Regions from separate parts of the Homo sapiens genome. Here region 2 is linked to region 1. Evidence: promoter capture Hi-C in human tissues and cell types (Jung and others, 2019). All regions are on one chromosome and are shown on one strand. Each heading gives the region's core, a stretch centred on a gene start or on the middle of the fragment in contact. The rest is flanking DNA. Distances are from core to core; before and after follow the strand shown. Region 1 holds the start of VSTM1 (V-set and transmembrane domain containing 1). Region 2 overlaps PRKCG (protein kinase C gamma).

Evidence for each region. Contacts are between HindIII fragments. The study calls those that stand out against the background at their distance.
Region 2: a contact is called between a fragment that was not itself captured here and the fragment with the promoter of VSTM1 in region 1, in 4 of the 25 tissues and cell types used here (liver, mesendoderm cells, spleen and 1 more).

What each region holds. Positions count from the first base shown.
Region 1 is chr19:54,062,647-54,068,773 of GRCh38, reverse strand. It overlaps VSTM1 (V-set and transmembrane domain containing 1), which reads left to right and starts at 4,877. Exons shown (of 9, transcript NM_198481.4): 1 at 4,877-5,030. The coding sequence starts at 4,997. The HindIII fragment of the contact is 40,052 bases long and covers 1-6,127 here.
Region 2 is chr19:53,901,399-53,907,199 of GRCh38, reverse strand. PRKCG (protein kinase C gamma) reads right to left here. Exons shown (of 18, transcript NM_002739.5): 15 at 4,047-4,127; 16 at 2,458-2,565; 17 at 743-883; 18 at 1-493. The coding sequence ends at 305. Among named protein-coding and RNA genes, the nearest start is that of CACNG7, 5.0 kb to the left of the region's middle. The HindIII fragment of the contact is 5,202 bases long and covers 1-4,372 here.

The DNA of each region.
Region 1 (6,127 bases), core at 3,628-6,127:
GGCACAAATGGTATTTTTTGTTTTTTTGTTTGTTTGTTTGTTTTGAGACAGAGTCTCGCTTTGTCGCCCAGGCCAGAGTGCAGTGGTGCGATCTCGGCTCATTGCAACCTCCGCCTGCCAGGTTCAAGTGATTCTCCTGCCTCAGCCTCCCAAGTGGCTGCAACTACAGGCACCTGCCACCATCTGGCTAATTTTTTTGTATTTTTAGGAGAGACGGGGTTTCGCCACATTGGTCAGGCTGGTCTCGAACTCCTGGCCTCAAGTGATCCACCTGCCTCAGCCTCCCAAAGTGCTGGGATTACAGGTGTGCACCACCGGGCATGGCCACAAATGGTGTTTAAAGTGCAATAGTCCTTCACCATGTGAGACTGTCTTGTCCATTATAGGAACACGTAACTCGACATTGCTAATACTTCCTTTCCCATTGAACACCTGTTGGAGACCTAATTATTGTGAAACAACAACAACAAAAAAGCCACTACTCTCATACCTTTCAAATATCCCTGGATGGGGCGATGGGAAGTGAGGGTGGTGCTCCCCCTGGTTGAAAAGCTGTGTTTGGATGCCGGGAGAAAACAATCTTCCTCCTCTTCCTTCCCCTCTAAGCTCAGCTCTGTTCTTCTCTAGCCATAGATCCCACAGCTGCCCAGGGAATGATGGGTTGGACCAGCTGAGCCTTAACCGCTTTCTGTGGAACCTGCACTCTCAGCTCTGTTGGGATCTGCTGTAGGGCAGGATGGTGGCTTTCTTCTTCCTGTACTTTTCACTGGGGACAGAGGACAGAATTGGGCACAATGAGCCACGTAATACTTTTTTTTTTTTTCTTTGAGACGGAGTCTCGCTCTGTCACCCAGGCTGCAGTGCAATGGCAAGATCTCGGCTCACTGCAACCTCCACCTCCTGGGTTTAAGCGATTCTCCTGCCTTAGCCTCCCAAGTCGCTGGGATTACAGGCGCCTGCCACCATGCCCAGCTAATTTTTGTACTTTTAGTAGAGATGGGGTTTCACCCATGTTGGCCAGGCTGGTCTTGAACACCTGAGCTCAAGTGATCAGCCCACCTCGGCCTCCCAAAGTGCTGGGATTGCAGGCTTGAGTCACCGTGCCCAGCCCTTAATACATTTTTGATAACTTGAATCAATACTTAAAACTTCAGAGTCAGATTGAGTAGTAGGTGACTCTCACCTGCGGGGAACTCTTCCTCCACACGAAGGGAAAAACATTGCTTCCTGTGTAATATTTATTAATACTTCCTCTCCGTTCTTTCTATTTTGTGCTTCTGGACCAGCATTTAGTCCAATATTGGGATATACATATTTATTTATTTATTATATTTATTTATTTTGAGACAGGGTCTCACTCTGTCGCCCAGGCTGGAGTGTAGTGGCTAGATCACGGCTCACTGCAGCCTCGACCTCCCAGGCTAAAGTAATCCTCCCATCTCAGCCTTCTGAGTAGCTGGGACCACAGGTGTGTGCCATCATGCCGGACTAAATTTTGTATTTTTTGTAGAAGCCGGGTTCCACCATATGGCCCAACTTGGTCTCGAACTCTTGGACTCAAGTGATCCTCTCATCTTGGCCTCCCAAAGTGCCAGGACTACAGGCGTTAGCCACTGTGCTTGGTCATATGTATTTATAATACATTCTTTCTTTCTTTTTTTTTGGAGAGGGAGTCTCACTCTGTCACCCAGGCTGGAGTGCAGTGGCGTAATTTCAGCTCACTGCAACCTCCCTCTCAGGTTCAAGTGACTCTCCTGCCTCAGCCTCTCAAGTAGCTGGGATTACAGGCGCCCACCACCATGCCTGGCTAATTTTTGTGTGTTAGTAGAGACGGGGTTTCACCATGTTGGCGAGGCTGGTCTCGAACTCCTGACCTCAAGTGATCTGCCCACCTTGGCTTCCCAAAGTGCTGGGATTACAGGCATGAGCCACCACGCCCAGCCTGTATTTATAATACATTTCTTTTACATTTTATTTTATATGTTTCCAACATTTTACCCAGTTTGGCAGGAATTCCATTCTATCCATGGCATCCATTTGCTTGTAATTGGTAGCCAGTCTTACTGGTGCAGATGTAAAATGTCAACAGTTGCCAGGTGCTGTGGCTCATGCCTATAATCCCAGCACTCTGGGAGGCCGAGGTGGGCGGATCACAAGGTCAAGAGATCGAGACCATCCTGGCCAATATGGTGAAACCCCATCTCTACTAAAAATACAAAAATTAGCTGGGCGTGGTGGTGCATGCCTGTAATCCCAGCTACTCAGGAGGCTGAGGCAGGAGAATTGCTGGAACCCGGGAGGCAGAGGTTGCAGTGAGCCGAGATCTCACCACTGCACTGCAGCCTGGGCGACAGAGCGAGACTCCGTCTCAAAAAAAAAAAAAAAAAAAAAGTCAACATTTATGTTTTGTTGTTACATTTTGTTTTCAAGATTTGTTGCTGTTTCTTGTTAATAGTCTTATTATTTTTCGTAAATATCATTCTTATTTTATAACTATTGTCTCCTCTGTTATAACTCTGAGGATGTGCTTATCAAAGCAATATTCCTCCTCTTCCTCCACTAACCACAGGTTGGTCCTTCTCTATCCACAGACCACACAGCTGCCAAGGGTAGCATGCGCTAGAGCTGCCGATCCTTAGAGTTTCCTGTGCAGCCAGCATTTCCAGCTGTTTGAGAGCCGCACCAGGACAGGACGATGGCTTTCTTCCCATCCTCCTCACTTAGGACAGGACGGGGTGGGCACAGGGACCCATCCAGCAAGTTATTATTTTTGTAGTTATTAAGATAGAAAGTATAGGCCGGGCATGGTGGCTCACACCTGTAATCCCGCCTCAGCCTCCCAAAGTGCTGGGATTACAGCGGTAAGTCATCATGCCCAGACGATTATTTTTTATTTGTATACGTTTATGGGGTACAAGTGTAACTTTATTGCATGGATAGATTCCAAAATGATGAAGTTAGGGCTTTCAGGTATCCACTAACCCAGTGACACACATTGTATCCATTAGATAATTCTTTTTTTTTGATGGAGTCTTGCTCTGTGACCCAGGCTGGAGTGCAGTGGCGTGATCTCAGCTCACTGCAACCTCCGCCTCCCGGGTTCAAGCGATTCTCCTGCCTCAGCCTCCTGAGTAGCTGGGACTATGGGCGTGTGCCACCACGCCCGGCTAATGTATCCATCATCATAACACACAACCATTTGAATGAATCTCACAGGCATTGTGCTGAGTGAAAAAGGTCACCCTCAGAAGGTGAGGCGATGGACGATTCCATTTATACAAGAGTCTCAAAGTGACAAAGTGATAGAGACGTAGAACAGATTAGCAGGTGCTAGGGTGGGAGAGCGATTATAAAGGGGCAGCATGAGGGAGTTCCTACGTGGTGGTGGGACAGTTCTGTGTCTTGATTGTGGCGGTGGTTCTATAAAGCCATACATACAGGCAATAAAATGTTACAGAACTATACCCATAGGCAAAGAAAAGGGAGGAGGAAAAGAAGGTGGAAGAGGAGGAAGAGCAGGAGAAAAGAAGGAAAAGGAGAAAAGGAAATAGAAATAGAAGGAAGAGGAAGAGAAAAAGAGAAACGAATTATGCACAAACTGGTGAGATCTGAGTGACCTCTGGAACCTGGTTAAACGTGTGATGCCAGTGCAAAGTCTCTGGTTTTGAAAATGTGCCATACGCCGGGCGTGGTGGCTCACGCCTGTAATCCCAGCAGTTTGGGAGGCCGAGGCAGGCGGATCGCCTGAGGTCAGAAGTTCGAGACCAGCCTGGGCAACATGGCAAAACCTCGTTTCTACTAAAAAGAACAAAAAAAATTAGCCAAGAGTGGTGGCGGACACCTGTCATCCCGGCAACTCGGGAGGCTGAGGCAGGAGAATCGCTTGAACCCGGGAGGCAGAGGTTGCAGTGAGCCAAGATTGTGCCACTGCACTCCAGCCTGGCTGACAGAGATTCTGTCTCAAAAAAAAAAAAAAAAAAAAAAAGTACTGTAATTATAAGAGATTACCATTGGCCGGGCACAGTGGCTTATGCCTGTAATCCCAGCACTTTGGGAGGCTGAGGTGGGCGGGTCACTAGAGACCAGGAGTTCAAGACCAGCCTGGCCCACATGGTGAAATCCCATCTCTACAAAAAATTAGCTGGGTGTGGTGGTGCATGCTTGTAATCCCAGCTACTTGGGAGTCTGAGGCAGGAGAATCCTTAAACCCATGAGGCAGAGGTTGCAGTGAGCCGAGATCGCGCCACTGCACTCCAGCCTGGGTGACAGAGCAAGACTCTGTCCCCCCCGCCCCCCAAAAAAAGGTTAACATTGTGGGGAGCTGGCTAGTGGGTACACGGAAGCTATAAAGCTATAGGTATTAATGTTTGTTTGTTTGCTTGTTTGAGACAGTTTCACCGTTGTTGTCCAGGCTGGAGTGCAGTGGCACAATCTTGGCTCACAGCAACCTCCGCCTCCTGGGTTCAAGCCATTCTCCTGTCTCAGCCTCCGGAGTAGCTGGGATTACAGGCATGCGCCACCATGCCTGGCTAATTTTGTATTTTTAGTAGAGACGGGGGTTTCTCCATTTTGGTCAGGCTGGTCTTGAACTCCCGACCTCAGGTGATCCGCCCGCCTCAGCCTCTCAAGGTGCTGGGATTACAGGCGTGAGCCACCGCGTCCGGCCGGTATTAGTGTTTTAAAATAAAAAATTACATTTACAGAAAACTCTTGGCAGAACTTCAGATAAGGTAGGACAGAGCTCGGGCGGGTGGGGCCACACACACCGGATTCATGGGGAAGAAGTTATCATCGACGGCTTCTTGTTTCCTGAGTCGGTTGTGAGAAGGAAACTGCAAGAGTGGGGCAGAGAACCAGAGTGTCAGAGCAAAACCTCCTCTATCTGCACATCCTGGGGACGAACCGGGCAGCCGGAGAGCTGCGGCCGGCCCAGTCCCGCTCCGCCTTTGAAGGGTAAAACCCAAGGCGGGGCCTTGGTTCTGGCAGAAGGGACGCTATGACCGCAGAATTCCTCTCCCTGCTTTGCCTCGGTGAGTCTCCAGGACTGGGACGAATGGGCTTGGGCTGGTGAGAAAAACTCATGTGGGAGTGGCAGTCCAGGTGGAAATGCGGTGTGTGGAAGTAATGACTTCCAGGTGTTGCACACCTGCGGTGGGTGGGTCTGGGCTGTGGGTTCTGTGAGTTCTGCCGCCCACATGCAAGCGAGGAGGAGGCCGCGCTGCAGAGACACGGGGACAGACTCCGCTGGGAAAGGCAGAGCTGCTGTGGGGTCTCCGAGTCTGCAGCCGCTAAATACCGCAGTACTGCCATCATCCTCCGTCGGAATAGAGGAGGGCTGGGCTTAGGGATCTACAGGGTGCAAGGCTGTGGGCAAAAAGACAATTTTCTTCTCTCTCTCTCTTATTTATTTATTTATGTATGTATGCATTTATTTATGAGACAGAGTCTCACTCTGTAGCCCAGGCTGGAGTGCAATGGCGTGATCTGGGCTCACTGCAACCTCCGTCTCCCAGGTTCAAGCGATTCTCCTGCCTCAGCCTCCCGAGTAGGTGGGACTACAGGTGCAGGCCACCACACCCGGCTGACTTTTGTATTTTAAGTAGAGACGGGGTTTCACCATGTTGGTCAGGCTGGTCTCGAGCCCCTGACCTCAGGTGATCCGCCCGCCTCAGCCTCCCAAAGTGCTGGGATTACAGGCGTGAGCCACCACACCTGGCCCCAAGAAGACAATTTTCTGACCAGCTCGATTCTTAGGCTGATTTTAACCATCCTCCAATTGAACCTGATGTATTCAGACAGAGCTCACACTGTGAAACGGATGACCTGGGTTATAATCTCGGCTTTACTACATAGAAACTCTAGGCTTGACCCAGCAGAGCTCCACCTCCCTAAGGCCCCAGTTCCTCCCTGGTGCACGGGGGGTGCGGTGGACATCGACGTGCTTCGTCTGCTTCAGTTCCTTCCTCCTTTTCTGGGTGCAGCCCTTCCTTGTGGGGTAATGCTCGTCTCCTACACACATTTGCACCTTAGATGAGCATTTTTTTTTTTTTTTGACAGAGTCTTGCTTTGTCTCCCAGGCTGGAGTGCAGTGGTGTGATCTCAGCTCACTGCAACCTCCACCTCCTGG
Region 2 (5,801 bases), core at 522-3,021, 160 kb after region 1:
ATGGAGTTGGGGATGGTTAGTGGTGTGGTCTCTGGACCCGATTGGGGCAGAGTCCAGAACGCTAAGGTCAGGGAGAATATCGGGCTCCGCTCAAGTCTTGAACGCGGGACGGCTGTAGAGGCTGTATGGAGTTCAGAAGGCCAGGAACGCTTGGGAGGGGCGTCTAGAACCCGCGGGGGCAGAGCTGGAATGCTGGGGTGCAGGATCTAGAATGGGACAGGGGGTGGTGAAGTTGGGGGTGAAGTGGGGCTGCCGCCGGCACGGCGGAGGGGACGTTGGGGACACCTAGTGGCGGCGGGTGAGATTACATGACGGGCACAGGCACTGGGCTGGTGGGGCTGCGGGCATCCGGGTGCACGAAGTCGGGGTTCACGTAGGTGAAGCCCTGGAAATCGGCCTGGTCGATGCTGGCCAGGACTAGGCGGTCTGGAGGGGTCAGCGCTGGCGCCGCCCGCGTGAAGAACTTGTCAAAGTTCTCGCCGCTGCGGCCACACTGTGGGAGACGTGGGGGAGGGAAAGTTAAGCAGCTCCGAGGGCTCCTCGGGTGTCCCTCTGTGTACCCCAGTCTCATCTCCTGTCTCCTGCAGAATCTCTATTCATGCTTCATGGTGTCTGCACCTCCTTTTGTTGGGGGCGGGGGGCTCTGCAGAGGGAACCCCACCCCCACATACAGGTATATTGAGGCCCAGGGGAACCCCACCCCTTCAGGGACCAGGTTTTTGTTGCCTGGAGGGTGACTGACCGGGCGGGGTCTGAAAGGAGGCGGGATCTCCAATCGTTCCAGCCGCTCCCAGTCAATCCAGCGGAAAAAGCCATGTGCACGGATGGTAGGTTCCCCATCAGGCCCTGAGCCCAGGCGCTTCCCTGGGTGCTTGGTCAGGAACTGTGGGAAACACAGAGAGAGACAGACAGACAAACAGACAGAGTGCCGGACAGGTAGACCCAGAGAAAGAGGGACAGAGACAGGCAGATGGAGGAACCAAGAGACACAGGCATGAGATCCGGAGAGATAAGAACAGCCAGGGGAAACAGGCAAATGGAGGGAGGAAGGGAAAAGAAAGGAGAGAGAGAGAGAAGAAAAGAAGAAGAAGAAGAAGAAGAAGAAGAAGAAGAAGGAGGAGGAGGAGGAGGAGGAGGAGGAGGAGGAGGAGGAGGAGGGAGGAGGAGGAGGAGGGAGACAGACAGAGAGCGAGACAGAGAGAGACAGAGAGGAGAGAGAGAGGAAGAGGGACAGAGAGAGAGAGAGACAGAGGGTGAGAGTGAGTGAGAGAGAGAGAGAGAGAGACAGGAAGAAGGAGAGGATACATGAAAATGATAGCAGATGAAATTCATACCCAGAGACCCAGGGACACACAGAGAAACAGAACAAATCATGAGGGAGATGGAGAAGAGGAGAGGGAAAAGGGGTAGGGGGAGAGAGGGAAGGGGAGAGAGGGACGGGGAGAGGGAAGGGTAGGGGGAGGGAGGGAAGGGGAGAGTGAAGGACAGAGGGAGGTCGGTAGGGGGAGGGAGGGAAGGGTAGAGGAGATGAAGGGGAAGAGGGAGGGAATGGGGGAAGAGAGGTTGCAGACCCAGAGAAAAGGGGAAATAGAAATTCAGAGGGTGGTACAGAGACCCCAGGTAAGAAGGCAGAAACTCAGAGAAGGGAGGAGACAGAGGAGACCCAGGGGGACAGAGATTCAGAAAGAGAGAAGGATAGAGACCCAGGAAACACACACCCAGAGGGAGGAATAAAGACCAAATATGGGGACAGAGACCCAGAGAAAAGGGAGGACAGAAAGCCAGCAGGAGAGGAGGGTGAGATGTAGCGTGTGTGTATGAGAGTGGACACAGGAGGGGACAGAGATGGGGGGTAGGGGGGTTGGACAAAGGCCCAAAAGTGTAGACAGAGATGCAGAAGGAGACACAGAGAAAAGGAAGAAACACAGAGAGCCCCATCGTATGCAGATGGAGGGGAGGCATGAGACAGAAACCAGAGAGACTGTCAGGGAGATGCAGAGAGAGCAGCTAGACGCAGAAGGTGCTGACATGGGCTGAAAATCTGCTATGGGCCAGGTGCTTTCTTCTGTGTCAACTCCATAACCCCTGAAGAGAGTTAAGCTCACAAAGTTTTGGTGACTCACCCAAGTTCACACAGGAAGAAAAGCTGCAGAAGTTGGGTTTACCTGACCCACCCAGTTCTAGACAGACAGACACCCTGGACTTTCAGCACTTCCTGCAAGCAGGGAGCTGGGGAGTGGGAGTCACAGAGAAGGATGAGACAGAGGCCATCTCCAGGCCTCGTGGCAACAGGGCTGGAAATCATTGTTCTAACAAAACCTATGCATCATATCAACTTTTCCAACAGATGGAAGTAAAGTGACTTCAGGAATGGGAGCATTTTTCTAATAGGCACAGAGACAGCAATGGGGTGTGTGGTTGTGAGCCTGGAGAAGCTGGGAGTCAGGGGGCTCTCACCCCCTTGCAGATGGCCACGGCTTCCCGGGAAAGCGACTTGGGGTAGGTGACAGTTTGTTCCATGATGGCCTGAAACAGCTCCTCCTCGTCCTCCCCATCGAAGGGAGGCTATCAAAGTGGAGGGGATAGAGAGTCAGGGACATGCCCAACTGCCTTTCCCCAAACCTTCCACACCCTCCTCACCCCACCGGGAACATGCCTGACCCATCACACGCCCCACATGCACACCTGACCACACCCTCAGGAGAGATCAGACCAAACCACCAAAGCTTGATCTCTCTCCTTCTCAGGTTCTCTCATTTCCTATCTCGGATGCCTCAGATCTGTGCATCTCTGTACTATTCTGCCTCTCTTTATCTGCTATGTAAATCAGCAGGCTGTTAATTATGCAACATGTCAGTTAAATAGAAGAGAGGAAAAACTGCAGGAAACACCCTAAAAGCATTCTCCTGGTTGGATGAGTAGTTCACAGTCTTCTGAGGTTACAAAAAATGATACCAAGGCAAAGATTTAGAGATGGGGTTTCATCATATTGGCCAGGCTGGTCTCAAACTCCTGACCTCAAGTGATCTGCCCACTTCGGCCTCCCAAAGTGCTTGGATTACAGGCGTGAGCCACCATGTCCGGCCAAATTTTTTTTTAACTTCTAACTAAAATTTAGCATTCCCTTCAGTTATGAATGCAGGCAGCAGCAGTGCTTGTGGCTTCATTATCAATAGTAATCACAGGTATTTTCTCATCACATGAGAGTTGCAGATATTCCAAATTATTAGTCATTGCTACATCAAAATTACTGTTAGAGCTCCTTTTTACTTTACTACCATTAGAACTTACTACTTAATGAATTAATAAGAAATTGCACATATGTCCATTTTCCAATTTTAAATATTTAGACAACTGTATACATTGAATTTAGTTGGTTGTTAGATTCAATTAAATTTTAAAAGTTTTGGTGACTATCTTTCAAAATGATTGATTTCTTTTGTTTGTTTGTTCTTTTGAGATGGGGTCTTGCTCTGTCGCCTGTGCTGGAACACAGTGGCATACTCATAGTTCAGTGTAACCTTGAGTTCTTGGGCTCATGTGACCCTCCTGCCTCAGCCTCCCCAGTAGCTGGGACTATAGGTGCCCACTACCATAGCCAGCTAAGAAGATGATCAAGAGTGTGGTAACCAATTTTTTTAGTTGTAGTACACTCAGCAGTCCAGGAATCCAATCAAGCTGATTTAGAATGTATGTAATTGTCTAAGCTGACACAGCCAGTAAGTGGCAAAGTGAGGATTTGAACCTTGGTTTTCTGCGTATGTATTATTCTATTTTGTGCATTGAAAAACATTCTTCTGAGAAGGGATCCATAGGCTTAACCAGACTGCTACTTTACCATCTAGGGAGAAAGAATCCATGGTAACAGAACAAACAAAACAAAACAAAACAAAACACCTGGTCTACATTAAGACAACACTTCAGAACCATGGACAGCGCTATTCGAGCACAACCTTCTGGGCTCCTTTCTAACTGGCTCCTCCTGAGATCCAGGTGCCCCTCTCTGTCTCTTTTAGCCAAGCCAGCTTCTCCCCACCTTCCCTTACCTGTCCTGCCAACATCTCATACAGCAGAACTCCAAAGGACCACCAATCGACAGACTTCCCATAGGGCTGGTAGGCAATGATCTAGGGGAGGTGGAAGGCAGGGAATCATGATGCGTTCTTTAGGAAGCCTAGGACCCCTCTGGCCTCACCCCCTGGGAGCGCTACCCACGTTAAGTGCTTTCAGCACAAGCTCTTCCCACTCTGAATATTTATTTCATCAGGTGATTTTTTGTTTCGTTTTTTTTTTTTTTTTTTTTTTTTTTGACAGGGTCTCACTCTGTTGCCCAGGCTGGAGCACAGTAGTGTGATCACGGCTCACTCAGCCTCAACTTCCCAGGCTCAGGTAATTCTTCTACCTCAGCCTCCCAAGTAGGTGGGCTACAGGTGTGCACCACCACACCTGGCTAATTTTTGCACTTTTAGTGAAGATAGGTCCTCACTATGTTGCCCAGGCTGGTCTCAAACTCCCGGACTCAAGCAATTGGCCTGCCTCCGCCTCCCAAAGTGCTGGGATTATAGGAGTGAGCCACCACGCCCAGCCTCCACTCTGAATATTTTGGCCAGCGATCTAACTTTTGGAATATTCTGGAAACAAAGCATACCTACTTCAAACATTCATTTGGCCTCAAATAGAAAGACTACCTAACGGCCAAGTCACTGGTTCCACCCACCTAGAATATTTGTGTCAGAGTCAGGAATATGTGTGTAGTTTTCAAATTTTCTTATCTTTTTTCTTTTTTGAGATGGAGTCTCACTCTGTAGCCCAGGATGCAGTGCAGTGGTGCAATCTTGGCTCACTGCAACCTCCACCTCCTGGGTTCAAGTGATTCTCCTGCCTCAGCCTCCTGAGTAGCTGGGTTGACAGGCACACATCACCATGTCCAGCTAATTTTTGTATTTTTAGTAGAGACGGGGTTTCACCATGTTGGCTAGGCTGGTCTTGAATTCCTGACCTCAAGTGATCTGCCTGCCTCAGCTTCCCAAAGTGCTGGGATTACAGGCATGAGCCACCATGTCTGGCCTCAGTTTTCAAATTTTCTACAGATGATTCTGATTACCAGCCAGGTTTTGTGATCACTGACATTGATTATTTGGGCACGAGTCAGGCACATCCTCCCAAGTAGCTGGGACTACAGGCATGTGCTTTATCCATCTATACGTACATTCAGAACATCAGCCCCACCCCTTTAACAAAGTCGGGTAATACCCCACCCACTTAAAATACTCATAGGACAGCATCTGCTCTCCCAGAACCTTAGGGATCTCACCCTGCCCTTTTTCTTTTTCTTTTTTTTTTTTTTTTTGAGACAGGGTCTCACTCTGTTGCCCAGACTGGAGTGCAGTGGCGCGATCTCAGCTCACTGCAACCTCCACCTCCCGGGTTCAAGTAATTCTCCTGCCTCAGCCTCCCAAGTAGCTGGGACTACAGGCACCCGCCACCACGCCTGGCTAATTTTTGTATTTTTAGTAGAGATGGAGTTTCACCATGTTAGTCAGGCTGGTCTCAAACTCCTGACCTTGTGATCCGCCCGCCTCAGCCTCCCAAGTGCTGGAATTACAGGTGTGAGCCACTGCACCCGGCTTTTTTTTTTTTTTTTTTTTGAGATGAAGTTATGAAGTTATGCTCTGTCACCCAGGCTGGAGTGCAGTGGTGTGATCTCAGCTCACTGCAACCTCCGCCTCCCCGGTTCAAGCGATTCTCCTGCCTCAGCCTCCCGAATAGCTGGGATTACAGGCGCATGCCACCACGCCCGG